Regions from separate parts of the Homo sapiens genome. Here all the other regions are linked to region 1. The links are contacts of gene promoters, found by promoter capture Hi-C in blood cells and fetal thymus (Javierre and others, 2016). All regions are on one chromosome and are shown on one strand. Each heading gives the region's core, a stretch centred on a gene start or on the middle of the fragment in contact. The rest is flanking DNA. Distances are from core to core; before and after follow the strand shown. Region 1 holds the start of LNPK (lunapark, ER junction formation factor). Region 2 holds the start of OLA1 (Obg like ATPase 1). Region 3 holds the start of SCRN3 (secernin 3). Region 4 holds the start of IFT70B (intraflagellar transport 70B). Region 5 holds the start of AGPS (alkylglycerone phosphate synthase). Region 6 overlaps LOC100130691 (Putative uncharacterized protein FLJ44553). Region 7 holds the start of NFE2L2 (NFE2 like bZIP transcription factor 2).

Region 1 (4,169 bases), core at 1,204-3,703:
ACATGATATTCCCTCTGTTTCCCACTCTCCCTTTTTCAGTTTCTCATCTTTTGGATCTCCATTCTGGTGTGACTTCCTCAAAGAAGCCTTACCTAACCTCTTTGACCATACCAATGAATGCCACTTATGTAAGTTCTTAAGTTCTCATAACACCTAGGTAAATTCAACCTATTTTAAACTAGACCATTTAAAACTCCATTGGTTAGAGCAATTTGTTTCCTCTCTCCAAGTATTCTCTGGTGTTCTTCTCTGTTGTTCTTTGGATTTCATTCTTTAGACCCTATCCCAGAACAATTTCAGGGTTAGTAGGGGATAACTCTTGACATTTGGACTCTGCTAAAGCAGCACCTTCACTGGCTTTCTCACATTCTCTCCGGCTGCTGTTTTCTTATCATTTTCCAATACCGTGAACATTAGCCTCTATCACAGCACTTATTTAGTCTGCATTGTATTTTTTTTAAGGTTTCTCTCACTAGTGTCAGCGGCTTTAGGACAGCTGGTTTATTTATCTCTGTATCCTCAGCACGTAACACAGGGCCTTGTCAATAAATATTTGGAACCACCCTGTAGCCTGAAGTCCAGCCACAATAGTGTGTATGTTGATTTCTCTGCTTGTAATGTCTTTCCCTCACTTTATTTGCTCGATGAACAACTATTCTTGATATGAAGGAGGCAGTGGCTTAGTGTTACCTTCAACAGTGTACATAATCTTTCTACATTTCAGTTTCCTCATTTGAAAAATGATACTAAAAAGGTTGTTGGGAGGATTAAAAGAGTTAATGATTAAATACTTCTCTCCCTTCTCTTTCCAGGTCAAATCTCTACTCTCGGTAGAGCAATTCCCTAGGGAATTTTATCTCAGGATTAGGTTTTTGGAATCTCGTGTATCCAGACAGCTCTTCTCTGTCCCCTTGCTACCCTTTTTTCAGAGGTGGGGTATCGCTTGGTAGCCCAGGCTGGAGTACAGACACTGATGGCTCAATTGAAACCAGAGGACACATTACTGGCAAGTGGAAAGCCGTTCTTCCCAGTCTTCTTAGGAAAGGAGATCTTTCTGCGGTGAGATATATTTGCAAAACTGCACAGGACTTTAATACTTTGCAACAGCAAAGGTTGAAAAACAAAACGGTTAAATTTCCACATCAAAACAGGTGAAATGTTTCTGTTCATTTTCTTCTACATTTGGAAAGTGCCTGATCCACAGTGACACGCTAAACTTCAGTTCCCTTCCCCTCATCCTTGCAAGTGTACAGAACTGTAACTAAATATTTAGGCAATTAGGGCAAGCAAATTGCACAGTGAATTATGCGGTAGCTTCTAGTATAATAAATTTTCTTACCAACCAAACAATGCTCAGTTGCTTCTCTTGACAACCTGTTTGCATCGTCAAAGTTTAAATGTAACATATTAAAACTATTACTCTTTAAAAAATCATTGAAACTTTTTTGTGTATAAATAAAAAAATAGAATAAAAATAAATAAAAAATAGAAAAAAACCCATGAAAAATGTTTGCACATGGGGTAAAGCATGTAAAAGGGGTAAAGCATGATAAAAACCTTCGCTGAAGTTTCCCTGCTCACACATTACTGTGTGCACGTCTAGTCTTTTTCTCATTCAGGCATCATTTGTTATTTGTCTTTTCCAGTTGAGGAGGACACTTAATACCGTTTCGGCAGCGTTTCAAATCCGAGTCAAATATAGCCTGAGTGGTTTTTTTGTGGGTCCACCTATCAGGGCCTGTGAAGAGTGTTCTTGGGGTTAAGAGTTCTAAGATAGAAAACTCAGCTTATGCTGTTACCCGCAGGTTTTAAAGCAACATGATACGGCGTTTGAAGCTTACCTCACACCGGTGAGGTAAGCGTCCAGTCATCAAATGACCCTTTTTGACGTCCAAGAGTGACAGAGCCTCAAGCACTCCTGGGGACCGGGCTGACTTTTCTCCACTGGCTTGGTTGGGAACTGGCTTCTTCGGAGCTGTGTAGTCTTAATTTGCTTTGCTGCTGGCTGGCTGACAGCTGATGGGGGACTCCTCAGGACGGACTCCCTTCCAGATGCACCCATCTCCATCCTTCTCAACTCCCCAACCTTTGTCCTCCCCACTCTTCGCTCGCGCGGCGGTCTGAGACCACCAGGACCAGTTTCAGGGGTTTCCTTCTCCAGCGAGACTTGGCAGAACAGGCTTTAAAAGCAAAGGAGGCAGCGGAAGAGTAAGAAATAACTATATTCTAAGAGTCATAATAAATGGCAGTACATAACTGCGACACGACACCGAGCAGCCTAAGCTGGCTGCGGAGGCCACAAACACAAGATCCTAACCTCCCGGCCGACCCGCCCCAACAACTACCCGCCCAGGGTACGGTCACGTGACGGGGGAGCGGCGCGCGCCGACCGCGGCGCCAATTGGCGAGCGGCTGGAGCGCGGGGTTTCATGGGAAGGAGTTGGCCCGGCTTGTCTCTCTGTCAGTGGCGGCTGCTGCCTGCTCTGGAGGCAGGCTGGGCGGTGGCGGCCGAGACTGGCGGGGGTGGACGCCCGGGCCGGGCTGCGCCCGCTTCTTGCAGGTAGAACGCTCAAGGCGAGGGCAGTTGGGAGGGCTCTGCAGCGGGGAGGCATGCTGAGCTGTGCCCCTGGGAAATAAGCTGCGGGTTCCCCGCTTGCCTCTCCTTGGTGCCCCCGCCTCCTGCCAAGTGGCCTAGAGCTCTGCGGCGGCTGCTAGTCAGGCTGCGCGGTGGTCCGCGCAGACCCAGGCTCGCCGCCTTGTTCCCTGGATTTCCCAGCACACTGGCAGTGGTGGCGCTGGAGTCTTGAAACCCTTGTTTCCCCTCTAGGGCTGGTAGTTTCTCCAGCTCGGTTCTAGGAGATTCCGGGTGGTGACTGGCTTGAGCCCCAGCTCTTTGGCCCACTTGTGTCGAGCTTATCTCGACACAGGTGGGGCAAAGAGGTCAGAAGGTCCCAAACTAGCATTTCCTACGCTCAGCTGTCCGCTTTGAGCGTTCTCTCCGCTTCTCTTTCTGAGTTGTGCGGAGGCTCCAAGAGTTAGAAAGACCAGAAGGGACTGAAAACTGTCAGTGTCATGCTGCCGGGCTCTAGCGTGTGGGCGTGGAGTACGTGCTACTTAGAGAAGAGACTCTCCAACCATTGTCCTTATTTCAGGGATGGTGGGCTGTGGGGTGGAGGGGAAGGGCGAAGGTGCATTGTATCAGAGGCGTGGTAGGAGGAGAAAAACAAATCTAAATTCCGTCAGTTCATAGTTTACGGATTGAGAAAGAGTTGAAATTGGTCAACTCAGCTTTGCTGATGGTGCTTTCACAGTACTAAGCAAGACCCGTGAATCACTGAGTTTTCCGTGTTCTGCTTTTCCCAGTTGGCCTCCGGTGTGTGTTGCTCGGTGTCTACTGTTTCCTCCTTTCTTTATGGCCTGGGTGTCAGCATTGACAAAATTGACTCTATTCAACAGCGGTTTGGTGGGTGTGAGTAAGCTTGGTTTCAGGAATATGTTCAAACTGGCAGGGAATGCTCATTTCTTTTCCTCAGCAGCCCCCAGAAGACCAAGTTGACTTTTAACACATTTTCTTAAACAGGAGTGGTGCGTTTAAATTAGAATTTTAAGGTTGTCTGTTATCTATTGAGATCAGCTCAGTAATGATGTTAGTAAACTTATATAGTGTTTATATGTTATATAAACAAGAAAATACAAGAAAAGGAGAAGTTATATGGCTATTAAAAATATATGACTTCACATAGAAACATTTATAATCAAATAGTAATTTTTTGGTGGTATTTAGTTCAGATGAAAATTGACTTACCATGAAAGCAAGCACTAATCATTATATATTAAGAGTGCTTAATATATAATAGAGGTGTACTTTTCATTAAAATTCTTTTTGAGGAGCAATAAATGTGGCTTGGGCTATTTCAGAATTGTCTTTTCAGTTAGGACATTTGAAAGTTAGAATTCTAGAATAAATCACCTTTACTCTTCAATTGTATAGTATAATATGTTATGGAGGTACTGTTGATGGTGATTAAATAGCTTATACTTAACTTTGGAATTTGATAAACATAGAACTTCCTTTGCTGTTTCCTTCAAAGACCTACAAGGTTATTTAATGGCAGAGTCTACAGAATTTTTTGCTCTATTTCTTATACTAGAGAAAATGAGAGCAATCT
Region 2 (4,169 bases), core at 844-3,343, 1.8 Mb after region 1:
GAATATAAATAGGGCACATTAATATATAATATTAAGAAAAAGTAATACAAAACCAAATCAAGTTGCCTGTGTCCTTGAGAATTTCCAAAATTGTAGAGAAAGCTCTTTAACTCACCTCACTAGAGCACTGTTACAGGGCTAAGGAAAAGCCTTAATGCAATTTTATTATGAATACTGGCTCAGAGCTTATAGGGAGTCTCTATTTGAATGAATTCTCGTCTGGGTGCGGTGGCTCACGCCTGTAATCACAGCACTTTGGGAGGCCGAGGTGGGTGGATCACAAGGTCGGGAATTCGAGACCAGCCTGACCAACATGGTGAAACCCCGTCTCTACTAAAAATACAAAAATTAGCTGGGTGTGGTGGTGTGCACCTGTAATTCCAGCTACTTAGGAGGCTAAGGCAGGAGAATTGCTTGAACTCGGGAGGCGGAGGTTGCCGTGAGCCCAGATCACGCCACTGCACTCCAGCCTGGGCGACAGAGTGAGACTCCATCTCAAAAAATAAAAATGAATTCTCGCTGAAAGGAAACAGATTTTTCAGATAGTTTTAGTTTTACTTTTTATTTGTATTTATTTTGTTAGAGATAAGGTCTTGCTCTACACCCAGGCTAGAGTGCTGCGGCAGTGATCATAGCTCACTGCAACCTTGAGCTCTCAGGCTCAAGCCATCCTCTCACCTCAGCCTCCTGAGTAGCTGGGACTACAGGTATGTGCCACTACACCCAGCTAATTTTTGTTTTTTGGTAGAGATGGGGTCTCACCACGTTGTCCAGGCTGTTCTCCAACTCCTAGGCTCAACTGATCCCCCTATCTTGGCCTCCCAAAGTGCTGGGATTACGGCCAGATTTTCAGTTAGATTGTGGTTTGAAATATGCTGCTGCCATTTACTAGTTGTGTGACTTCATCCAAATTAATCAACCTTTCTGATATTGTTTCCTCACTTGTAAAATGGGGATGGCGACCTATTTACATCCTTTAATATTAATAGCAACTAATCCCTTTAAAAGGAGCTTCTAGTGTCACAATTTTTGGACAGGTATCATATTCATTACAACAAATACCTGAATGACATCTGAAGGCCAGGACCTAAATGAAAGAATTCCTTCTCCAGTGGCGCTCATGGTATTGATATGATGTGGGTGAGATGGGATGAAATCCTAATATTAACAACAGCGACTACTCACAAGCCTTTTCTGTATGTGCTGAGTACTGTTGTTATGAGCTCAACACGCATTGTCTCATTTTATTCTCACACGAATAACCTCATAAGGTGGTTTTAATAGCCTCATTTTATCCAGAACGAAATTGAAGTCCAGAGAAGTTAATTTGTCTAGGGTCATACAGTCAATGAGTGGCGAAATCCAGATTGGAAATTCCCAAATTTCAAAGGCCCCTGCTCTCAACTACCAAGAGGAAAAGGGGGGAAATTGGCTCAATTAAACGCATTCTGTGATCCAGTACCTGTGTGCGACGCTTTAACTATAAGGCGAGGAAGAAATCCCTAGACCAAAGTTTCCCTTAGCCCCTTTTCCTTCAAGAACTTTTAGTTAACAGCTTCTCTCCGCACAGACTGAGCGAATAAAGTTATAGAAAAGGGAGATGGGCTAGCGGCCACGCGGTCCTCGGGGCTGGTGTGGCTGTTTGCCTGACTTCAGACGCCCCGGATCTCCCGGAGGGAAGTCAGGGCCCAAGGCACTCCGCAGTCCAGCTGGGAAAGCTTGGGGCTGTAGGCCCGCGAGTGAACGTGAGCAGGTAACCCAGGCCGCGCAGCCAGACGGAAGCGGAGACCTAGAACCGAGAAGCCCACGTGCCGAAGCGGAAGACTAGAGCTCCCGGGAACGGCCTAGCCAGCGCCTTCCCCTCTCCAGCTCCCTGCCGCCGCGCGGCTCCTCCCACCCTGGGCTCCTCCCGCCCTACTCCCGCCTCCCCGGCCGGTTAGGCCAATGGGCGGGACGCGCGGGCAAGGCGGGGAGGGGCGGGGCCCATGGTCTGCGCGCAGGTGCCGCTCGGCGCCCGGCCCGCCCGTTCCGCCGCTGTCGCCGCCGTCGTGCGTGCCGCTCGGCGGAGGGGACGGGCCTGCGTTCTCTCCTCCTTCCTCCCCGCCTCCAGCTGCCGGCAGGACCTTTCTCTCGCTGCCGCTGGGACCCCGTGTCATCGCCCAGGCCGAGCACGGTGAGGCCCTCAGGGAGCCCGGGGGCGCGATCTCCGCCAGGTCTTCGGCGCCTGGGCTCATTGCCCTGAGGCTGGCGCGGGGCCCGGGCCCAGTGGCCAAGATGGGGCCAGGGCAGCGGGTGGCTTGGGGATGTGTGGATGAATGAGGCGCTGTCGGACTAGGCCGCGCGTCGGGAGATCGGCCTACGCCTCACGCGGGAAAGCCCTGGGGAAAGCCTTCTCCCGACGCCAGGACGCCCGGTGGCCCAGTCCGGAGAGGAGGATGGGGGGTGGGGCCCACTTTGGGTGGGCTGCCGGCCACCTCTCTGTAGGCCAGAGGACCCGACAGGCGCTGTTCCTGTATCTGTTCTTTGGAGGCCTGGGAGTTGGCCAGGAACAGGTGTCAGGACGCTGAGAAGGGAAATTCCTGGCCCTCGGGGTCAGGGATCAGAGGCTGGAATACTACTGCAAGGGCAGGGCCCCAGCGTGGTCCTAGGAGGTACAACTCTCAGCCAGAAGACTGGGACAGTTTTAGTTCCCAGCTTCTGAGACGTGAGCTTAGCGGTCTTTGTGATTTCACTTTGCAGTCCAAGGGTGGGAGTAATTCTGCACGCATGATTTGGAGACAGAACTAGTAAGGGACAGAGAAAGTTTCGACTTGTAAATAAAAAGGTTCCGTCGATTAATTTACCATTAGAAATAGTAACCATAATGTAGATTTTGGAGGTTGCTTATGAGGACTGATGAGCCGTACCTTCAGTGCCAAAGGTGGGAGGGACTTGGTGGAAGGACCCCAGTACCTGGTGGGTGTTCATCTATGTGAAAAATGGGGGTTGTGGGCGAATGGGAAAGATAAGATTCCAGATTATAGAGGAATGGTTTGGTGTGAAGGGTGACTTGGCTGCTGGTGGTTCCACAATGGAATTTTCTTTGACTGTCTTCTGTGTACTTGCTTCCAAATGCTTTCTTTCATATAACCATATATCAGGTTAAGATATAAAGTGTTTTGTGAGCAGTCTGGATGGAAGATTGGTAGCTAAACTCTAAGTTTATCTTTGATTCCTGGTGCCACAAATATTTTATTTATTTATTTATTTATTTAAGACAGAGCCTAGCTTTGTCGCTCAGGCAGAGCCCAGTGGCGTGATCTTGGCGCACCGCAACCTTCGCCTCCCGAGTTCAAGCAGTTCTCGAGCCTCAGCCTCCCGAGTAGCTGGAATTACAGGCTGCGCGCCTGATGGCCGGCTAATTTTTTTGTATTTGTTTTTCTTTTTAGTAGAGACGGGGTTTCTCCGTGTTGGCCAGGCTGGTCTCGACTCCTGGTCTCAAGCAGTCTGCCCACCTCGGCCTCCCCCTCCCAAAGTGCTGGGATTACAGGCCTGAGCCACCGTGCCCGGCCCAACAAATATTGATTTTAGATCAGTCTTTCTGGGACTTCTCAGCAATGACTCTTTTGACAACGGATATGTTTACAGAACTTTTTAAACATTTTTGCTGAAAAAAAAGTGGATTTAGCTCTGTGTTAGTTTTGGATCGCTATATACAGTATGTTTTGTTCTTAATCTTAATTCAATAATATATTGTATGTGATGAAATGTGTTTTGGGTCCATGTGGATAGTAAAAAGTTTTGTTCATATGTTTGCTTTGGTATTTCAGATGCCCCCTAAAAAGGGAGGTGATGGAATTAAACCACCCCCAATCATTGGAAGATTTGGAACCTCACTGAAAATTGGTATTGTTGGATTGCCAAATGTTGGGTAGGTGAACGTTGGGGCTTTTGTGATTTTCATTTTGTAAATATTTTGGGTCCTATTGTAGAAATGGGAACCGTGAGGTAATTAAACTTTAAGTTGAAGAAAAGAGGCCAGGAAGCTGGACTATTAATATTGCAAAATTAGGCTTTAGTTTAGATGTATTTTATTGATTTCAGTGCTGGTTGGCTATGTGTGGTACCTACATAGGCTGTCTACCAGAGGCCATGCAGTAGGCTACTTTAGGAAATTGATTTGAAAGCTC
Region 3 (4,169 bases), core at 891-3,390, 1.6 Mb after region 1:
TTCTTCTACTGTATAGTTCACATTTATTCTCTAAGACCTTTCTCTCCTAAAGTCTTCCCTGAATTTCGTTTCACCATTTCCATATTTGGGAATCCGTGTACCTAGCTCTATTGTTGTAAAGGCTAGATTCCATTACATTCGTGTATATATAAATCCCTTTACTGGACAATGAGATCCTTGAGGGCTGGGAGTATGTCTTACTAATCTTTATATTCTCTTTGCTGGAACTTGTCTTATGGAAAAAAATCTTACGTGCCCAGTACTTCCTCAAAGGAAGGAAGAAGGGGTCTTATTTGAGCTGGGAAATAATACACATTATAATTCTGATGAGACTGAAATTTTGAAACAGACTCATTGATTCAGACAAAAATATGTCAATATAATTCCAAATTGCTGATATTTCTAGGAGAAAGTTCACATATTTAATTTATAAATCGCAATTATATACTTTAATATCTAGATTACCTCTTCAGTTGTAACTTGGAAAATCTTAGATCTTCACTTATAATAGAACACCTAAAGGTCCTTATTTTGCTGCCAGAACAGACACATTGTTTTACAGAGTTTCCTTCTTTCCTTTAATAATGGCAAAACCTTAAAATGGCTTTACACAGGCAGATGCTAGCAACTTAAAAACAAAATTTAAATATAATAAATGTTTCCTTAAAAAGAAAAGAAAATGACTAAATAAAAACTTCAGACTGAAACTCTTAAGGGTTTTCCTCTTCTCCTCAGTGACGAGAAGTCTGATGTCTTGATGGCTTCTGTTATTTTCTTTCTGTATTTCAACTCTTATGTCCTGGATCTCCTTCTATTTGTGTTTTATAGTTAGTTCTATCACTATATAACTTTGGCAGACTATTTAATCTCTCTCTTACCTATGCCTTCTGCCTCATCAGAAAAATAAGACACTATTTGATGGGCTGTTATGAGAACTTAATAAGGCAACACGTAAAGTGTTTTGCACAGTGCATAGAACATAGTAGATACTCACATGAAAGCTGTTATTGTTATTATTTGGTAGGAGAGAAAATTTCTCATAAAGGCTTATTCGTTTTTTGTTTTTTTTTTTTGATGGAGTTTAACTCTTGTTGCCCGGGCTGGAGTGCAATGGAGCAGTCTTGGCTCACTGCAACCTCCGCCTCCCGCGTTCAAGTGATTCTCCTGCCTCAACCTCCCGAGTAGCTGGGATTACAGGCGCGTGCCACCACACCCGGCTAATTTTTCGTGTTTTTAGTAGAGACGGGGTTTCACCATGTTGGCCAGGCTGGTCTTGAACTCCTGACCTCAGGTGATCCACCCACCTTGGCCTCCCAAAGTGCTGGGATTACAGGCGTGAGCTACCGCGCCCGGCCAAGGTTTATTCTTAACATTACCCTGATAGAGAACTTGGTTGGTGGATCACCTGCTGCAGTAGCAGCCACGTCCACTCAAAAACCTGGAGTCCCAAGGGCCATCAAGCTGCAATAGTAACCTGAGCTGCCTAACTGGGGTCGTAGGGAAAGCTAAGGAAACTTGCCCCCTGGTTAGAATTGCACCTAGCCCACTGAGGAGGTGAAGCCTTGAGAGATTTTACCAACTCCTAACGCGTATTCGTCATTCAATAAGTATTTATTGAACGTCTTTCGGCGCCAGTACCGTACAGCTGGGTACAAAATAGACAGGGCCTCCGTTCTTGCAGAGCTGTCTGTCATTCTATTTCACGCGCTCTTAGTTCAGCCGGCGCTTTCAGAAACATCATATTGTTGGATTCTCGCAAGCATACTACGGTTAGGGCCGGAATTATTATCTTCATAACATAGATGAGAAAAACAGTGCAGAAAAGCTTTTGCAGCTCGAGTCAGAGTCCACAGAAAGTAATGGGCTCGAGCTTCAAGCACCTTTGGTCGAAGGGCCGCCGCGGTCCACCCCGCACCCCGGCCCTGGGCGCTCAAACCGCAGCCGGTGCAGCTGGGCTCCGGAGCCCCTCGGTCAAGCAGTGCCGCGCCACAGTTGGGTCTTCCGGGTTTCTGTCTCAACTATGCACGCCCCTCCCCCGTGCGCGCCCCTCACCTGGCCTCCCAGCTACCCGAAGTGACAGGTGGACGGAGGGAGGAGTGGCCAGTGGAGGCATCAGTTGCCGGAAGCTGTCACCTTTGATCTCGGAAGTTCCCCCTTGCTGCTGGAAACGCAGTTCCGGTTAGGCGGCTGAGTTTGTTTACGTTGCTAACAGATCTAGCCCCTGCTTTCCCTAGTTCCAGTTCCAAGATGGGGAAATCCTTCGCCAACTTCATGTGCAAGAAAGACTTTCATCCTGCCTCCAAATCCAATATCAAAAAAGTGAGTAAACAGACCCGGGGAGGGATTAGGCCCACAGGGACCGCCTTCCCAGAGGCTGCTGGAAGTGAAAGTGATGGTGTCTCTGAGATCCCTAGGACAGCCTCCGCTTCTCTAGGCCTAAAGCCCTGGTGGTCTCGCCTTTCTCTGCTGAGCAGCTCGCTGACGCAGCGGGTCCTCAGCGTTTATTCTGCAACAGCGAGGAGACCGGTGGCCTAGAGAATCTTTGTCGGCCAGAATGCAAATCCATAATATGCGAAGACTAATGTCAAAATTCCTCAGTACTTCCTTCAGCTGATTCTGGTTTTTTGTCTTTTCGGATCCCAGGGATCACGGCTTCTGAACTCTACTTTTCTGTACAAAGAAGCCTCCCCGTTTACTTAAGATAGATCTTTAAAAAAATTACCTAATAATCTAGTGTCTTTTTGATGACTAAACTCGTTGAAGTTTAGTGTTTTACATAATTACAGGTCTACCAGTTGTAATACTTTGGTGAATATCATAGTAATGAAAAGCAAAAGAGTGAAGTAGAAAGAATCAGCTTTGGAGTCAAACCTGGATTCTAGTTATTCGAGCAGTCACTTTTAGCCTTAAGACCTTGCACAAAATATTTGTAATATCTGACCCTCAGTCTTCTAATCTGTAAATTAAGGATGATTGACTTAATTGTGAGGATTAAGTGAAATAGTGAAGATAAAGGATTTGAAACAACGTAGGCATCTATCACTGTGTCCACTACAGAGAGGAGGTGCTCAATAAAATGTTGATTGCCCCTACATAGAAACTTGTGAAAATAACTAAGCTTTTATTTGTTTTTAGAACGAGTTGAGGTGATGAGATACTGCTATATACTCTCACTTCTAGACCAGTGATTCTCAACTTTTTTTTCACTGTTACCTTCCTAAGGAGTCTTATTAAACATTTTTTCTTAATAACTCCCCCATGAAATTTTAATAACACAGATACACCTTGAAAGCTCTTTGGTAATCATCCAGCCCCATCTCCTCATTTTATAAATGAGGAAACAAATTTGCCAAGAGTTACACAGCTAGTTAAATGTTGTACCAGAACTAGGATCTGGAACACCTGATTAACCCAGTGATTTTTTTTCCACTGCACCAGTTTGTGTTTGTGTGGTTGCAACTGTGGGAGGGAGAGGTTTCTTGTATTTGGTTGGCTCAATAACTTTTGACACCAAACACAGACATTTCCTTTCTCTGCATACTTAGGGGGTCAGCTGTTACTATTTTTACAAGAATGAAGAGATTAGATGGAATTCAGGTGCTTGCTTATTTGCTGTTTATATTTAGAGACAAATATACCTGAGAAATCATAATTTTTTACTGGAACTTTTGACATTTCGCTTTATAAATTTCAATGTATCAGCTTTCTTACAAGAAAAAAGAAATCCACAGAGAATAACTTTTGCAAGTCCGCTATGAGAAATTCAGTAAAGCAGTTATAGGCTTAGAACCTACATTCTTCTCATCTGTGTAAAGTGTTATGTAAAATGTACCAAATATTGTTGGCCTCTTTGATCTGTTTTATACTTTTCCCAGGATAGAGGAGAAGAATGAAATGTTTTTGATTAGCAGACCTTTCTAGATAGTTAACACTTTATGGGGAGAGGGGGTGACCTCTAGCATTCTTTATTAACTAAGGATAAAGGAACTATATTAAATGAAGATAAATAGAAAAATTTATTAGGGTAGGAGGAAACTTTTGGAGGTGATGGATATGTTTATAGTGTAGATTGTGATGATGGTTTCACAGGGATATACTTGTCACCAAACTCAGGTTGTATACATTAAATATGTACAGCTTTTTATATGTCATACTCCAGTAAAGTTTTT
Region 4 (4,169 bases), core at 1,135-3,634, 1.6 Mb before region 1:
TACAAACACTTCTGGATTGAAAACTGGATAAGGCTGTAGCTGAGATTGGGGAGAAAGAAGCCTTGAAATAGGGTTACAGAAGCCTTCCTCAACTGCTTTCCCTGGTGTTCTTGCATGGTCCAGAGCTACACTCAACCTCTCTAAAATGAGTGCACTTTGTCCCTTTCTTGGTATTGATGCAGTAGGAGGTTTCTTGTCTGTTCTCATCTAGAAGGACAGAACTGTGGCAAACTTCTCAGCAAGAGAGAAGAATACAGGAGTACGTGAAGTCAGCTGCTTTATGGTATAGCATTCAGATGCCTACTGAAGTTCCTTTTTAGGTATAACAGGTGACCATTCCCAACTAATCACTTTCTAATACTTGCTCACAGTTACGACTTAGGCCAAGAAGTTCAAATTTCCACTGGCCAACCCAAGGTGGCTGGTTGCTTTAACAGGAAAATAACAATATAAAAAAAGCAAGACACTAATATTCCCCTATAACTGGGCCCATACATGATAGATAGAGTTAATTCATCAGTGACTATTACCTACTGAACTTAGCTTTGGAATTTCATGATTCAGCTGCTTCTTATCTAGCTGTGTCATCTCAGGCAAGTTGCCTAATCTTTCTGATTCACATGTTCTTCATCAGTAATATGCAGAATACAGGGTGGTTATTATGATTAGAAATAATATATATAGGTGGTCTAATAGAATGTGATGCAATATGGTTGGTGTTGGCTCCAAAATTTATATGTAGAAAAGATTTATGAACAGCAATACTGTTGAAGAGGCAGTAAGGTACCTGCATTGAAGTATTTAATTATATAGCAAAGACATGCTCTGACTTGGACTGTTTATCATGGGTGGTAGTGAGGCCAATGGACATCATGGAAGACTACAAAAGACAATGCTCTGTCCCAGGCCACCATATGATAGATGTTAATGAATTACAACTATTATTGTTACCTTGAAAACTACACTATTTACAAGTACCTCACTGGGATAAGCCAAATTCATATTTTGCTATCTTGTCTATGTCCCTAATTCTTGATTGAAAAATTGTATTTATTCTCCCTTAAAGTCTATGGTCTCCAGGTCAGTTTATCTAGGGGTATTTTTTAAATTGGTGATTAAATATAATTTTATGGAATAATTAAGCCCCTAGTTTTTCACAGCCCCATCATGGCCACTAATAAACTGAAAAAAAATTATACAAAAATAGCCCCAGGATAATAACATGGAATCTACAGCATCTATTCCAAATATATAACAAAGAATGAAAGAAAACCCAGAATGATATCTTGTACAGTCTAGCAAACCTGCATAGAAATCTTCAAACTAAGAATCTGGAAAAAAAATTAAAGTGTAGGCAATCTTTTCTTATTTTAACAGAAGAAAATCCATATTTATCAGTTCAATATCCAAAATCCCTAGAAGGCTGAAAAGTACAAACTGAGCATGTGTGTCTCTCACACACCCACACATCACTGGCTGACTAATTTAGTAGTTAAGAGAGAAGAGTAAAAATGCATAGGGAAAGGAGCACATTTTAATGTCTTGGATTTTCCCCTCTTGGAAAAAACTGAAGTCATGCATTTCTCCAACGTTTCTACCTAGTAGTGAAAGTTGGAACTCCAGCGCAATGGGGATGGCCAAGGGTAAACGCCAATATATACTCAGTAATATTTGTTGTTACGGGAAAAAAGAGCGGGAGATACTTGGACCTAAAACCGAAACTCTCCCAGTACCAATCAAGATTCACAGTCCTTTTTCCTCATTAACCTCTGGAAACCACCAAATTAAGGATTCCTGCTCGCCGCTCTATTCCGTTCTTACAAACTGTGCCCTCGGGGTAGTGCAAAAAAGAACGTGCTCTAATTCCAGGGTAATTCCAAGAGATAACTCGCCTTTTGCCATCCCGGTTCTTTTACTGAAACTAAACCAAAAGCCAGCATTATTATCGACCACACCGTGTACCAGGCTCAAAATCGCCAGGAACATGGGGCCGGAAACCTTCCTCCGCCGCGCCAGAGACCACGGTGCCATAACAGACACAGTGAGCGCCCCTCATCTTTAAGAGGCAGGGAAGGAGAGTTACCCTGCACCCCCACGGGCCGCCGGTTCGGTAGGTACAGCCGGGACTACGTCTCCCAGCATGCAGCGCGGCTACGACCCGCGCCGCGGAACCACTGGAACGGTGCATGCCGGGACGAGTAGATTCAGTCTCTGAACGGCCCGGAGTAGTCTTTCCCCTCCTGAATGCCGCCACTCCGCAGTCCAGAGTATTTGAAGATCAAGCTGAAATTGAGAGACTGACGAGAGTGGTCCCTTTTTGTTCCTAACAGATTTCTTGCGACAAGGAAACCGGCAGTCTTCCGCTTCCGGTTGCTCTGTTGCCATAGTAACCGCACCCATAACAGCCGTGGTGGTTATGGCTGGCCTGAGCGGCGCGCAGATCCCCGACGGGGAGTTCACCGCGGTCGTGTACCGCCTCATCCGCAATGCACGCTACGCCGAGGCGGTGCAGCTGCTGGGCGGAGAACTGCAGCGGAGCCCTAGGAGCCGCGCCGGCCTGTCGCTGCTAGGCTACTGCTACTACCGCCTGCAGGAGTTCGCGCTGGCGGCCGAGTGCTATGAGCAGCTGGGCCAGCTGCACCCGGAACTGGAGCAGTACCGCCTGTACCAGGCCCAGGCCCTGTACAAGGCCTGCCTTTATGCGGAGGCCACCCGGGTCGCCTTCCTTCTCCTGGATAACCCCGCCTACCACAGCCGGGTCCTCCGCCTGCAAGCTGCTATCAAGTACAGCGAGGGCGATCTGCCAGGGTCCAGGAGCCTGGTAGAGCAGCTGCCGAGTAGGGAAGGGGGAGAGGAAAGTGGGGGCGAGAATGAGACCGATGGCCAGATCAACCTGGGTTGTTTGCTCTACAAGGAGGGACAGTATGAAGCTGCATGCTCCAAGTTTTTTGCCGCCCTGCAGGCCTCGGGCTACCAGCCTGACCTTTCCTACAACCTGGCTTTGGCCTATTACAGCAGCCGACAGTATGCTTCAGCACTGAAGCATATCGCTGAGATTATTGAGCGTGGCATCCGCCAGCACCCTGAGCTAGGTGTGGGCATGACCACTGAGGGCATTGATGTTCGCAGTGTTGGCAACACCTTAGTCCTCCATCAGACTGCTCTGGTGGAAGCCTTCAACCTTAAGGCAGCTATAGAATACCAACTGAGAAACTATGAGGCAGCTCAAGAAGCCCTCACTGACATGCCACCCAGGGCAGAGGAAGAGTTGGACCCTGTGACCCTACACAACCAGGCACTAATGAACATGGATGCCAGGCCTACAGAAGGGTTTGAAAAGCTACAGTTTTTGCTCCAACAGAATCCCTTTCCTCCAGAGACTTTTGGCAACCTGTTGCTGCTCTACTGTAAATATGAGTATTTTGACCTGGCAGCAGATGTCCTGGCAGAAAATGCCCATTTGATTTATAAGTTCCTCACACCCTATCTCTATGACTTCTTGGACGCTGTGATCACTTGCCAGACAGCTCCTGAAGAGGCTTTCATTAAGCTTGATGGGCTAGCAGGGATGCTGACTGAGGTCCTCCGGAAACTTACCATACAAGTACAGGAAGCAAGACACAATAGAGATGATGAAGCTATCAAAAAGGCAGTGAATGAATATGATGAAACCATGGAGAAATACATTCCTGTGTTGATGGCTCAGGCAAAAATCTACTGGAATCTTGAAAATTATCCAATGGTGGAAAAGATCTTCCGCAAATCTGTGGAATTCTGTAACGACCATGATGTGTGGAAGTTGAATGTGGCTCATGTTCTGTTCATGCAGGAAAACAAATACAAAGAAGCCATTGGTTTCTATGAACCCATAGTCAAGAAGCATTATGATAACATCCTGAATGTCAGTGCTATTGTACTGGCTAATCTCTGTGTTTCCTATATTATGACAAGTCAAAATGAAGAAGCAGAGGAGTTGATGAGGAAGATTGAAAAGGAGGAAGAGCAGCTCTCTTATGATGACCCAGATAAGAAAATGTACCATCTCTGCATTGTGAATTTGGTGATAGGAACTCTTTATTGTGCCAAAGGAAATTATGACTTTGGTATTTCTCGAGTTATCAAAAGCTTGGAACCTTACAACAAAAAGCTGGGAACAGACACCTGGTATT
Region 5 (4,169 bases), core at 1,253-3,752, 1.4 Mb before region 1:
GGTGTGCCTTACAAACGTTACTATTTTTTCTCTGAATGCTGTAAACCAAGCCATTAAATCTAACCATAAGGAAAACCTGCCCTCCTTACTTGGTTCTAAGAGTGTGAATCTACATAAAATGTACAATCACATATATGCATACAAATGAGAACACATAAATGTACATGAAACCATTTAGAAAATTTTAAACCTAATGACAGCTATTAATAATATAACCTCAATTGAAGCCAGGAGACGAGATGAAATCCTTTATTCCTCCCCTCCCCACCACTCAGTAACCAAGTTATGGAAAATTTACCTCCTAGCATTTTCTCAATTAAGTTGCCTACTCCCAATAATATGCCTTAGTTCAGAATCCCAGCATTTCTCCCTGGAATAATAGTCTCCTAGTCTCTCTGCCTTTAGACACTGTGAAAATTGCAGCTACCATTCTTTGAAAGGTTATGTAACAGGCATTGCACTAAACACTTGATCATTTAACTCTATTTTTTTCAATTCTCACAGCAACACTGCAAAACAGGATTACTGTTCCCGTTTTTACAAATGACGGTGACTGAAACTCTCAGAGGTTAAGTGATTTGCCCAAGATCATAGAGCTGTAACGGTGTAGTGGAAATTGAAATCCAGGTCTATGTTCCCAGCCATTATACTGCCAAAATGCTCAACTGTCTTCAATTTGCTCCCAGTGTGACCTTTATCAAAGGTAAATCTAATCATGTATTGCCCCACGTAAAATCCTGTAAACAAGATTCACCTCTCCAGTCTTCGTCCCCTGTCATTCTCACCCTCTCCTACTACACTTGAGTCTCAGCAGTTCCCTAATTTGTCTCTCACTTCTTTACCTGTGAACATACTGTTTGTATGCCAAGAACAATTTCCCCCTTTGGCAAACTATTAGTAATGCAAACATCCAAAATTTACTCAGACAATCTTTACTTTGGAACATCTTTGCACTAACAAACACAAACCCAAAACTGGGTTAAATGACCAGGTGGTATAGTTCCCAGTTAAGTTTCTTATAACGCTGTATTATAATTTTACCTACTAAGCTATTCCTTCCTTAAGAGTAAATACCGTATTTTTAAATTTCTGTATTGCTGGTACAGTGTGTATTTTGTAAAGACTCATGTATGTTGAATTAATTCATCAGAAGCAAGTATAGCTTAGGAACTTGGCCATGAAGTCAATTTGATGTGCTTTCAAATTCTAACCTGTCACACAGCATATCTGCTAAGACTCCAGCAGACTTAATTTATTCATCTGTAAAATGGGAGAAAACCGCACATACCTCATAGCTTGGGAAGAAACAAAGGATTTAGCACACTTTGGCACACTTAAAAGTACACTTTAAACATTAGCTACTTATTTTTTTCACTCTCGGTTTATCCATTTATCCACGGTGACAAAGCCACACGTCAGAAAGTAGCTTCTCCTAATAGCCTTCATCAGAGATTGAGGAGATCGAGACCATCCTGGCTAACACGGTGAAACCCTGTCTCTACTAAAAATACAAAAAAAAAAAAAAAGATTTCTCCAAAAACATCGAAAGTCAAGATCTCTTACAAACATCCCTCATCGGTTAGACTCTTGTCTTTTAGCTTCTGGTTACACAGAGCTCAGTAGCTATACCACCACACCTTAAACCACTAGCTAGTGTTTGCAGTTTATGGCTTCTTACCATTCATCGGTTTCCTCCCTCAAAGTCAATACATCTTGATCCTAAGCAAGTGGAACTTACCCCACAGAAACCAGTCAGCACCTTTTTCCAGGGCACCACCAGTTTCCCCCACAGCAGGCTTTCGCGAATGAGAGAGATTCCTATGATCTATCATCTAGTACAAATTTATATCTCCTCGGAGAAAAATAGAACCTCTGCTACCCATTCCAAGACCTCAGCACCAAAAGTATTAATTCAAGATAAAAAATGAATTCCTGGCACTAAAAGCTCAGGAAAAAGGAATCCTTTAAACCCTTCTCCAACGAGAGTTCTTCAAGCCTGTTACCCTCACATAGTGACCAAAATCCACCATCCCATCCCGCCCCCTTCCTGACAGAATCCAGGGTCTAGTCCACTCTCTCGAAAGAGAGGTGGGTCCCTACTTTCAGGGACCGGGATGCCTTCCGCCCACCCGTGTCACTTCCCTTCCCACCTCGCCTGTGCCCTCCTGCAGCACAGGCCCGGCCTGGTCCCTCGACGCTAACTCCTTCCACATACCGCTACTCACCGCTTCTTTGGGATGGTGCCCGACTCCTGCGCGGCGGGAGTGGCCGTGGGCGCTGCCGTGGCCGCCGACGCGGCTCTCCGCGCTTTGCACTCATTGGTACTCAGAGCCTCCCGGGGCCGGCCCAGCAGATGGCCAGAGAGAACCCGCAGCCTCCGCCCGGCGCGGTCCGGGTCCGGGTCCCGGTCCCGGTCCGCTGCAGACCCGTAGCTCGCGCCCGCGCCCAAGCCAGTCCCACCCGCTGCAGCCGCCGCCTCCGCCATGGCTACCGCCTTGTGCTGCCGCCCGGAACCGCTGGGCGCGGGTGAAAGGTCACTCAGAGCGGCGCCCGGCGCGACCATTCGCTGCGGCGCATCCCGGCAGCCACCGCGGCGACTTGGCGGCGGGTGCCATGCGTCTGGAGCTTCACATTCTCTGCCCCCCACCCACCGCGCCGGCGCTCCCTTGTCACGCCTCGGGAAGCGCGCACCTGCCAAGCAGGTGAGTTCGAGCTGACTCCCGGTTGGCCCAGCCCGGTCCAGCTGGACCGAGAGCCAAACCACGTCCGCCCTCGAGGTGTCCTAGAACCCTGGGTGGTGTCCTCGGGTGTGGCCTGGGGGCTTTCGAGGGCAGATGCCTTGGAGCAGGAGAAATGGGCAGTGCTACTGGACCTGATGGATCCAGCGGCATCCTTTTCCTGAAAGAGATTCTAATGTTCCACCTGTGCTCTTCCTCCCTGCGGGGTCACCAAAGTAACTCAAAGCTGACCATCATTGCCTCTAACCATTAGAGCAAATAGCTCTATCATTTTCTTATTTCTCACCACCTATTTCGTGCCTGGCACTGTGTTTAATGCTAGATCACAAGTAAGTACAGAAACTGAGTTGCAACTTAAGTTCTCATTTCATTCATTACTGGATCCTAACCCCTTCCTAACTTTAATAGAGATAAAGTTTCTTATTGCTACAGACAAAAATTACCCAAGAGCTGTGAAGACATCTCAGTTATTTACAGATTGAATTCATTTCTGGAAGATAGCACGTGAAAAGTGCTCCTCACCTGTTTCAGCCGGTGTCTTGCATAAGAATTAGCTTAGACAAAAACTCACATACACTGGCCATTGTCATTCTCCATCCTGTCACCACTTTCACATCATGCTTTCCTAACAAGAAAAATATTGGCAGAGGAATCTGAAGAACACCACATCCATGGGACTAGAGACTAACAATTGCTCTCTTGGGTGTTGCCAGCTTCTAAAATTGAGATTATGCCTTTAGAGTGAACTTCCAAAGAGGCCCAGACTGGTTAAAAACTCTCAATTAAGGGCTAAGCAAATTGCTGTTGGAGGGCCAGCTCTAGTCTGTGGCCTGTTTTTACACAGCCCTCATGCTAATGGTTTTTGTATTTGAGAAGGGTTGTTAAAAGAAAACAAGAAATTTTTTAAAAGAATATGCAACAGAGACCTTATGTGGTCCCAGAAGCCCCAAAATATGTATTACCTGGCCTTTACAGGAGGTCCGAATGTCTTCTGAAATTTATATACGAAGAGATACCAAACCATTGAAAACAGTCCAAATGTCTAGCAACAGAGAAATGGTTAGTCAATATGTTAAAATACTTTTGCAGCTATTAAAATAATTTAGTACAGTTGTAGAAACAAGAAAGAATTAGGAATTTGTTAAATATAAAAAATGGCCATAACCTAGGCATCTTATACGTATCTATTTAATCAATCTTTGCAGTAACACAATGACACAGTTTTATTATCCTTATTTTATAGATGAAGGCTCAAGGAGAGTAAGAAGCTTTTCTTAAATAGCTATATTTTATCTCAAATATCATATACTTCATGTTATTGTCCTTATTCCACCATTAGAGTTTGGGGCCATTAACATTTTACGTTAAAATTACTTACGTAGGCTTGGGGTTTTTGTTTTTTATTTTATAGATTCTAAAATTGAACTTTCT
Region 6 (4,169 bases), core at 1,670-4,169, 1.3 Mb before region 1:
TATTTGGGAAAGTTAAAAATCAGGCTCAGAAATCAGACAGGAGCCAAAGGAGGCTGGCAGCAGATGAATCAGCCAAGGACCACTGAAGGAATAGTCTGATTAGAATGCTGCCAGAACTTGGTGAAGAACTGTTATAGGAAGAGCCTAAATAGAAACTAAGGACAGTGCCACCACCAGACATTCTCTTCTCCTGAATTACTGACATCATCACTGTCTCAGTAGATAGCTTGATGGTTTCTGCATCTTTGCATCACTCCTTCTGGATTCAATGTGGGAATCCCACTGGACAAACTTCAGTTATGTGCTGATGTCCTTGCTGTCTAGAAGAGGAAGATATGCCTTTTTTCAGTTCCTATAACAGGAAAAGTGTTGAGATGCCAAATACCAAAGCACACAAACCCCAGACACACAAACACATCCAGGACACCATACTTGGGTTTGTTTCTGGACTCACTGTTTTATTGGTTTGTTTGTTTATTTTGCTGTCATTATGCTACTGTTTTAATTTCAGCTGTTTTATCTTTTTTAAAAAATCTAGCAGTTAAAATCCTCCTTCCTCTCAAATGGTTGTCTTTTTTTCTTGACTCTTTTCAGTTTAACTTTTCTCAAGGAACTTCAGAACTCTTTTGTAAAGTTTCAAAAAAAATTCCATTGGCATTTCCATTGGAATTGTATTATATTTATGAATATATTTGGGGAATAATTAAAAAATTTTTAAATGCCGAGTGTTCTTATCCAAGAACATGGTATATCTCTGTTTAAGCCTTGGCAATTTTATAGTTGTCTTCACATAGATTTGACATACTTATTAAGTTTATGTTTTTGTTATTCTGGTAATTACAATTTTTTCCACTTTGTTTTCCTTTAAAAGAGTTTCAAAGCCCCCCTTTTGGACCACAGAAAATCTTAACGTGTTATAACCTAACTATGCAAATAGCTCTGTGATTCTAATTTCTCTTTTAAGCAATATAAATCATTGAACTACATTCTTCCTATGTTTATCCAGCTTTCCTTACCAAATTAAATCTCATACTTTGTAGTGTAAATTTGAGTTTGAAAGTTAAAGGTAAAGAATGTTTTCCAGGGGACTAAAACAGGAAAAATACTGTCAACAGAATTGAATAAATTGGAAGATGGAGGCCACTGCGCTAGTACTACAGTGCCCCCTAGTGGAAAAAAGGAAGCATGGGCATGTTTATACCAAGAATGACCCCAGTCTCTCTTCCACAGGCAATTAGAATCTGGAGGTGTGTTAGTGGTCAACTAGGTCAACTCCTCTGGCTTCCAAAAAGGGAAACTGAGAAACAAAATGAAGAAATGACTGGCCCAAATTCACATTGTCAACCCAAGGCTTAAATCCAAGATTCCTAACTCTCATTTTTCTTCCTTTTTGCTACCCTTTCTTTTTTCTTCCTTCCTAGTTCAAAATATATTGTGCTCTTATTATAAAGCACAATATATTCTAGGAATGTGTTCTAGGAATACAGATATAAAGAAGATTTAGTCGTTGCCTTCAAATCTAGTTTTACTTCAAGCCTAATTTTTTTAGCCATTTTCAGGGAATGAATTTGTTGGGGAATGACCAAACAACTATGCAGGGGAAGGTTCTCAATCATCCACAAATTGACTCACAATATGATTAATTAATTATTGAGTTTTAACTGGAAAGTACAATCACAAATGTGAAAATTGCCCTTGATCAGATTCAGACCATTTCATGAGGAGGTAAGGCATACTTTCAAATGGCCTGCATTAACCTTAATCTTATTTCTCCTTTGCAGATTCAAAACTGTGGACTATCTTGCAAAAAATACAAGAAGATATTGAAAGTTTTCATGAGTGCCTACCACCTAATCTCAAACACTATCATTCATATGTGCCTCATTGAGCAAATCTTTAATGAGGATCTATATGCCAGGTATGTGCTAAGCTCTGTGCTTAGTGTGGCAAAGAGAACAGATATGGCCTTGAGGTTTCTGCTCTCACAAAGCTTATAGTCTCCTATTTGTGTATGTGTAATTCTCTAAAGCTCAGGAAAGCTGTTTTCCTCATTTTTCTTTGGCATCATATTTTTAGGCTATAGAAATCAGAAAGTACGCAAACATTTTCTAAAATTACTCTGCCCCACAAAAAGGGAAACAAAAATAACAATTTGGGGCCAGACAGAACTGGATTTGAATTCCAAGCCTGCCCTTTACAAGCTATTAAACAAGCTTATTCTCTGAGCCCCTGTTGTTTTCATGAAGTGGAAATAATATGTATCCCTTGTAAGGGATCATATCCTTATTAATACCTAAATAGAGACATTACTTTTTGAGTCAAAACTATGAATTATATGGTCCATCTCCTAAAATGCAGAAAAATTATCTAAAGAGAAGCATTATTAATATTGTTCACTTAGTTTCATCAAGAATGTCACTTTCCAGAATTAATACAGACAGATATTCTTTGCCATTGACTTTTTCTTTTTTTTTTTAAATAAGGTGAAATGCTCTAACAATGGATGCCACTATAACAGAGTTTCTGTAAGGCTATTAGTTTCTTTTTCCATGGATAGTTTCCATGGCCTTGCTCCACATAAACTAAACCCTATTATTTCAGTTATGATGACTAAATCTAGTATGACCATTATTTATCTGTATAAGGGATCTTGTAGTAATCTGTGTATAAGCTTATCACTCCATCTATTTAATGATTTGACTAAGTCAAGGATCATATTTTATTTCTCTCTGTTCTCCCCTCCCAGTGGTACCTTACACAGAATTAGAGCACACTAAATGTGTTCTGAGTAAAAAGACTATCTTACTATGTGCTGTTTGACATGTAAGCTGAGAGAGAAAATTTGGCATATGTTGTAGGTAAACTTACTTTGTTTTACCTGGGAGTAGCAAGTATCAAACAGATCCTACTCCTGTTACAATCCTGCTAGAGAAAAAAAGTAGTTAAATTCCCCAGTCTCTACTCAAACCAAAACAAAACTTCAAAAATATTGAGACACAGAGAGAAGGAATAGGATGGGGTCAGGGAGGACTGGTGTTTCTGCGTAGTGTGCATGCAGCAGGCTAATGTCCTTTCCCTGTTGTAATAGCTCCGAATGTAAGCGCCACACAACACCAGGTCTATGAAAAGCCCAGGGTTTCAAGGTCAAACAAGTTTGGGAAAGCTTGCCCAGCATTTTCCTCTCTTGCAAGCTGGCAGTGGACACTGGTAAATTAAAGCCTATAAAAACTGCTTAACATTGTTTTACCTTGCAATCCCCAAATTCATTTGACCAACGTTTCACCTATAAACATCCCGCAGATCTGGTAGATTCTGTGGAAGGCACAGACTTCAGGAAACTGCTCCACTGTGTTGAAAGGACTTCTTTCTCTTGTTAATTCACACACAAAAAGCTGCCATTTTATTTCCAAATCCTACAGAACTGGGAATGTGAGCATTTCCAGCAATGTTTCAACTGTAGAAAAGTGAGACCACTTTCTGACAATTTAGAGGTCCCAGAAAGTTTATACAATTGAATTTTAGGTATGTAAGGAGTCAGTTCGAATCCAGGAAATGGCTTCCCAGCAATGCCTGGAATGTCCTCACAAAAACTGAGAAACAGATATCCAAGTCCTGTTTTGGATCTTGGAGGGACAGAGAGAGAGAAGAGAAAAACATAAATTTATAGTCCCAAATCTCATGATGTTTCTTCCAGTTTTCTACAAATAAATACACAGTATCCACTTTCCCTGAACTCCATCTTGGGACTTTATTTTTGCGTGTTTCCAATTCTCCTCTCTAGATGGCAGCACAGATGAAAAAATGCCAGAAAAACAGCAGGCCAGACTCAGCGGCAGCAAACTGCCATCAACAGCCCTCCCCCAACTCACTCTTCCTTTTTTTTTTTTTTTTTTTAAGAAACAGAATCTAAGATACGATGGCCGACACTTTTTCCCAAATAGATTTAATCAGTTACATGGGAATACAAAAAATGACTGACGACACACCGATATTAGTGATCAGGGGAACTGACTCTAACAGTGTCTCTTACATGTTACTTGTGTTTTCTGTATCTTAAAGATAATGTAGGCATTGTTCCTAAGTCATGCAGAGGGGTTGTGTAAGCATGGTCATTTGCATCATTATCCTGCACGTCTGATACAGCCAAACTCCACGCCACCTGGTTTGCT
Region 7 (4,169 bases), core at 556-3,055, 1.3 Mb before region 1:
GACCTCAGGTGATCCGCCCACCTTGGCCTCCCTGGGATTATAGGTGTGAGCCACCGCGCCTGGCCTATACTGGAGTTTAGTTTATCCACTGGGCAGGTTGCTCAAGTTCAAACTCCCTAAGCAGATATTCAGCGAGTATCTTACATAACTGGCACAAATGAGGTCATATCACGGTCAGAACCTCTGTATGCATTTATCCCTCCATCTACTTCATTGATAAAATGTCTGTGTTCGTGAAGTGTATTTTGATAAGGAGACTATCTCTCCATCGTCTAATAAAATGAAACTTATGCATGGTGTGATGAGGTTTTTTACTTTGTATGTAGCAACAAAGATATGTTATGGGAAAGACAGCTTCCTCATTCCCAGGGAAGTCATTTTCTTCTGAGAGTCTGAGTTTTATTAAATCACCAAGTATCATCTCCCTGTTTGTGCTCCCAATGTTGGTTAACAAACAAAGAGCAGCCAGGGGAAACCCTGCCTTTGATAGTCACCATACATACAGTATGCTGTTTTGGTTATCAATTGCTATGAAACAAACCACCCCCAAATTTAATAGCTGAAAGTGATTTATTATAATTTCTCACAGTTCTTGGTGTTGACTTAGCTTAGCCAGGGAGTCTTCTGCCGGTCTTGCTTACAGTCTCTTGTATGTGACTGCAGTCATATAGCAGCTGGAGCTGGAGTTCTTTGGGGGCTTGAATAGGTGGGCTCGAAGGTCCAAGATGGTTTCTTCATTCACATGTCTGGTGTGTTGGTTCACATAGTCTCTCTCTCTCCATTTAGAGTTTCATCTTCCATGACTTTTCCCATGGCCTCTCTTTCCATCAAGGTAGTCAGACCTCTTAGGATGATGGCTGACTTCCAAGAGTATAAAATTAAAAGCTGTCAGGGCTTTTTCAAGCTTAGGTTAAAACCTGGCATAATGTCACTTCTGGCCTCTTTCCATACCTTAAAGCAAGTTGCAGGGCCAGCCATGCTTGTTTCAATATGAGGGGACTAGACAAATGCCTCAATATCAGGAGAGGTGGTTTACTGGGTGCCATCTTTGGAAGCTTTCTATACTTTACACTGGACAAAGTAGAATTTCAACTACAATTCTAAAAGATTATGAATATTTTCTGGCTCAAACATGGAGAACAATTGAGAGGAAGTGACAGAGAGAGGAAGAAGCCTCAAAGTGATGGAGGATTTTGAAACAATCGGTACTTTCTTGCACCTTGCAACTTGGCAGATTGGAGCACAAAGGAGGTGGAACTAAGGGGTCAATGCATCACCATTATCCAGACTTCTTATACCCAGAAGACTTACTTGATGATACTTTTTTTTTAGACAGAGTCTCACTCTGTCGCCAGGCTGGAGTGCAGTGGCGTGATCTCGGCTCACTGCAACCTCCGCCTCCTGGGTTCAAGCAATTCTCCTGCCTCAGCCTCCCTGAGTAGCTGGGACTACAGGCGCATGCCACCACAACCAGCTAATTTTTGTATTTTTTAGTAGAGACAGGGTTTCACCACGTTGGCCAGGATGGTTTTGATCTCTTGACCTCGTGATCCGCCAGCCTCGGCCTCCCAAAGTGCTGGGATTATAGGCGTTAGCCAGAGCACCTGGCCAATGATGCTTATTTTTTATGAGCAATCTGGAGCAAGGTATCACAATTGACACATCTCAAGCATGTAGGGAAGGCCGTCTTCCCAAAGACAGCAAATGATTCAGGAATCAATGAAAAGGTACAAGAGTCAATAGAACATAAAACCAATTGGAGGGTATTTTTCCCAAATAGTAGCGAGGAGAGCCTGGCAGCAAAAAAGGATCCCATGGCAGCAAGACAGGAGAGAAAAACCAGCACCTCCTCTTTCTTGTTCTTTCTTGCTCCTCCAGAGCTTCTCAACATGCATTATCTGTGCCCTCCTAACACAATAGGCAGGTTTGGAGGGCAAAGCAAGGGCTCAGGCTCTCATATGAAGACAATCACATTCCAGAGTCTGCCAAGATTGGGCACCTCCTTGACGTGGGTGGTCTTGAGAATGGGGTTCCCTTTATTTGGCTAAACCAAATGCCAAACAGCTTTTCCTTAGTGTTTGTTTTTCTTAAACAAGTTCAAACTCTTATCATATTGCTCCCCTCCCTTTGAAAATATGTACTCTGCAGATGCCTGAAATAACACACTCTCAGCAAATTGCAGCATTGGAAAAGTGAAGGTTATTTCATTCAGTCTAAACTCAATGGAAATTTTGTGGCTTAACAAGGAAATACCAAATACTTTATAAACTCCTTTAGAGCAGTAACCATGTCATATGACTCTGGTATCTCCTACCTACTAGGCTCATTGTCTACCTTCTCTGATGTCGTAATTTTAATAAGTAACTTGAATTGTTAACAATTTACTCTTGTCTTTTTCTTGGACTCAGAAATGTTATTTTATTATTATGTCTCTGCATCTTTCATGTGAGGTCCTTTGCAAACAGTTTTCTCCTAACTTGTTTTCATTGTGCAGATCATGTTGCAGGGTTTTCACATAACAGCTGAAAGGAATTAATAGGAGTTAAAGAAGCTTGCTTCAATTACAAGTAATTAATTTAGGCTTCACTTATCTCAAGGAATATCTGAATATACAAATTTACACATAAATCCTGGGAGTGTCAAATTATGCAACCTAGAGAAAGTAAGCTCTGCAGCTTTTTGGGCGTTGATTGCTATAGTCAGGGGTGTGTGTGTGGTTTTTGAATGAAATAGCAAAACCACTGCCAGTATTATCTACTTCACCTGGTTTTGAATAATTCCAGGAAGCTAGAAACTGAAAACCAGTCTTGTATAGAGTTAGAAAGATTGTAAATGCAGAAGAGGAAGAAAAAAACAAAACTAAACCATTTATCTATCCTCTTTGAACCCTTATAAGAGTTCACAATATTCCTCGTTTCAAATACTTGAAGTCTTCTCTGGGCAATGATTAATTTTTAAATAATTGTTTTTAATGTAAGACATAAAACATACGCACTGCAGATTTAAAGCATACTTGGAAGTAACAAGGAGAAACATAAAAATCGTTGATTCCACAGCATTTAATATATTGGTAACCTTCAATTTTTTTCTAGGCACGTTTTTATAAAATGAGCCAATACTATACAAACGTTTTTGTAACTTTTTTTAATTTGTACTATTTTGTGAGTACGTGAAAAAGAAATTTGTAAAGAGTAAACGATTACAGCATGTTGTGGTATTACACACTGTTGAAGGGCGCCATCTGTGGCGTGGTGGCTGCGCTTTGGTGGGAAGAGGTTCTCTTGGGGTTCCCGTTTTTCTCCCAGCTCTGGGTGGGCAATACTGACCACTCTCCGACCTAAAGGGGCTTCTCCGTTTGCCTTTGACGACCTGAGCTTAGGAGAATGGAGACACGTGGGAGTTCAGAGGAGGGCGTTCAGGGTGACTGCGAACACGAGCTGCCGGAGCTGTCCACATCTCCCCTAGGCAGGGCCCACTGGCCCCAGCCCGGGAAGGGAGCAAGGGCGGGAGGGCAGTTGGCAGTGGCACGGTCTGGGTCCAAATCTTTAGCCCCCCCCACCCCGGCTGGCGCCATTCTCGGGCGGTAAAGTGAGATAAAAGCAGGGCAAGGTTCTGCAACTCCAAATCAGGGAGGCGCAGCTCCTACACCAACGCCTTTCCGGGGCTCCGGGTGTGTTTGTTCCAACTGTTTAAACTGTTTCAAAGCGTCCGAACTCCAGCGACCTTCGCAAACAACTCTTTATCTCGCGGGCGAGAGCGCTGCCCTTATTTGCGGGGGAGGGCAAACTGAACGCCGGCACCGGGGAGCTAACGGAGACCTCCTCTAGGTCCCCCGCCTGCTGGGACCCCAGCTGGCAGTCCCTTCCCGCCCCCGGACCGCGAGCTTCTTGCGTCAGCCCCGGCGCGGGTGGGGGATTTTCGGAAGCTCAGCCCGCGCGGCCGGCGGGGGAAGGAAGGGCCCGGACTCTTGCCCCGCCCTTGTGGGGCGGGAGGCGGAGCGGGGCAGGGGCCCGCCGGCGTGTAGCCGATTACCGAGTGCCGGGGAGCCCGGAGGAGCCGCCGACGCAGCCGCCACCGCCGCCGCCGCCGCCACCAGAGCCGCCCTGTCCGCGCCGCGCCTCGGCAGCCGGAACAGGGCCGCCGTCGGGGAGCCCCAACACACGGTCCAC

What was found. The method cuts DNA at HindIII sites, captures the fragments that hold promoters and counts their contacts. A CHiCAGO score of 5 or more calls a contact.
Region 2: the fragment with the promoter of OLA1 here is called in contact with the fragment with the promoter of LNPK in region 1 in 2 of 17 cell types (non-activated CD4 T cells and total CD8 T cells); the score reaches 5.8 in non-activated CD4 T cells.
Region 3: a contact is called between the fragment with the promoter of SCRN3 here and the fragment with the promoter of LNPK in region 1, in 8 of 17 cell types (naive CD4 T cells, total B cells, naive CD8 T cells and 5 more). The highest score is 8.7, in naive CD4 T cells.
Region 4: the fragment with the promoter of IFT70B here is called in contact with the fragment with the promoter of LNPK in region 1 in 7 of 17 cell types (total CD8 T cells, total CD4 T cells, activated CD4 T cells and 4 more); the score reaches 9.2 in total CD8 T cells.
Region 5: a contact is called between the fragment with the promoter of AGPS here and the fragment with the promoter of LNPK in region 1, in 9 of 17 cell types (M2 macrophages, naive CD8 T cells, total CD8 T cells and 6 more). The highest score is 11.9, in M2 macrophages.
Region 6: a fragment that was not itself captured here is called in contact with the fragment with the promoter of LNPK in region 1 in 1 of 17 cell types (total CD8 T cells); the score reaches 5.0 in total CD8 T cells.
Region 7: a fragment that was not itself captured here is called in contact with the fragment with the promoter of LNPK in region 1 in 2 of 17 cell types (fetal thymus and naive CD8 T cells); the score reaches 6.1 in fetal thymus.

What each region holds. Positions count from the first base shown.
Region 1 is chr2:176,000,551-176,004,719 of GRCh38, reverse strand. LNPK (lunapark, ER junction formation factor) reads left to right here and starts at 2,453. Exons shown (of 13, transcript NM_030650.3): 1 at 2,453-2,560. RefSeq lists an enhancer at 2,040-2,259. The HindIII fragment of the contact is 1,642 bases long and covers 1,839-3,480 here.
Region 2 is chr2:174,246,456-174,250,624 of GRCh38, reverse strand. OLA1 (Obg like ATPase 1) reads left to right here and starts at 2,093. Exons shown (of 11, transcript NM_013341.5): 1 at 2,093-2,173; 2 at 3,810-3,910. The coding sequence starts at 3,810. RefSeq lists a silencer at 1,788-2,307. The HindIII fragment of the contact is 2,463 bases long and covers 1,721-4,169 here.
Region 3 is chr2:174,393,701-174,397,869 of GRCh38, reverse strand. It overlaps SCRN3 (secernin 3), which reads right to left and starts at 2,140. Exons shown (of 8, transcript NM_024583.5): 1 at 2,053-2,140. It overlaps CIRSR (corepressor of RBPJ and splicing regulator), which reads left to right and starts at 2,158. Exons shown (of 10, transcript NM_004882.4): 1 at 2,158-2,319. The coding sequence starts at 2,248. RefSeq lists enhancers at 1,212-1,712, 2,210-2,259. The HindIII fragment of the contact is 1,293 bases long and covers 1,828-3,120 here.
Region 4 is chr2:177,551,011-177,555,179 of GRCh38, reverse strand. IFT70B (intraflagellar transport 70B) reads left to right here and starts at 2,384. Exons shown (of 1, transcript NM_152517.3): 1 at 2,384-4,169. The coding sequence starts at 2,417. RefSeq lists enhancers at 2,118-2,407, 1,776-2,579, 2,580-3,384. The HindIII fragment of the contact is 6,507 bases long and covers 1-3,552 here.
Region 5 is chr2:177,391,106-177,395,274 of GRCh38, reverse strand. It overlaps AGPS (alkylglycerone phosphate synthase), which reads right to left and starts at 2,502. Exons shown (of 20, transcript NM_003659.4): 1 at 2,226-2,502. The coding sequence starts at 2,485. It overlaps LOC100130691 (Putative uncharacterized protein FLJ44553), which reads left to right and starts at 2,584. Exons shown (of 9, transcript NR_026966.1): 1 at 2,584-2,702. RefSeq lists silencers at 780-1,074, 2,283-2,502. The HindIII fragment of the contact is 4,249 bases long and covers 1-4,008 here.
Region 6 is chr2:177,332,142-177,336,310 of GRCh38, reverse strand. LOC100130691 (Putative uncharacterized protein FLJ44553) reads left to right here. Exons shown (of 9, transcript NR_026966.1): 3 at 1,782-1,918; 4 at 4,060-4,169. Among named protein-coding and RNA genes, the nearest start is that of MIR6512, 20 kb to the right of the region's middle. The HindIII fragment of the contact is 492 bases long and covers 2,674-3,165 here.
Region 7 is chr2:177,264,585-177,268,753 of GRCh38, reverse strand. NFE2L2 (NFE2 like bZIP transcription factor 2) reads left to right here and starts at 4,027. Exons shown (of 5, transcript NM_006164.5): 1 at 4,027-4,169. RefSeq lists a silencer at 3,884-4,169. The HindIII fragment of the contact is 1,496 bases long and covers 1,058-2,553 here.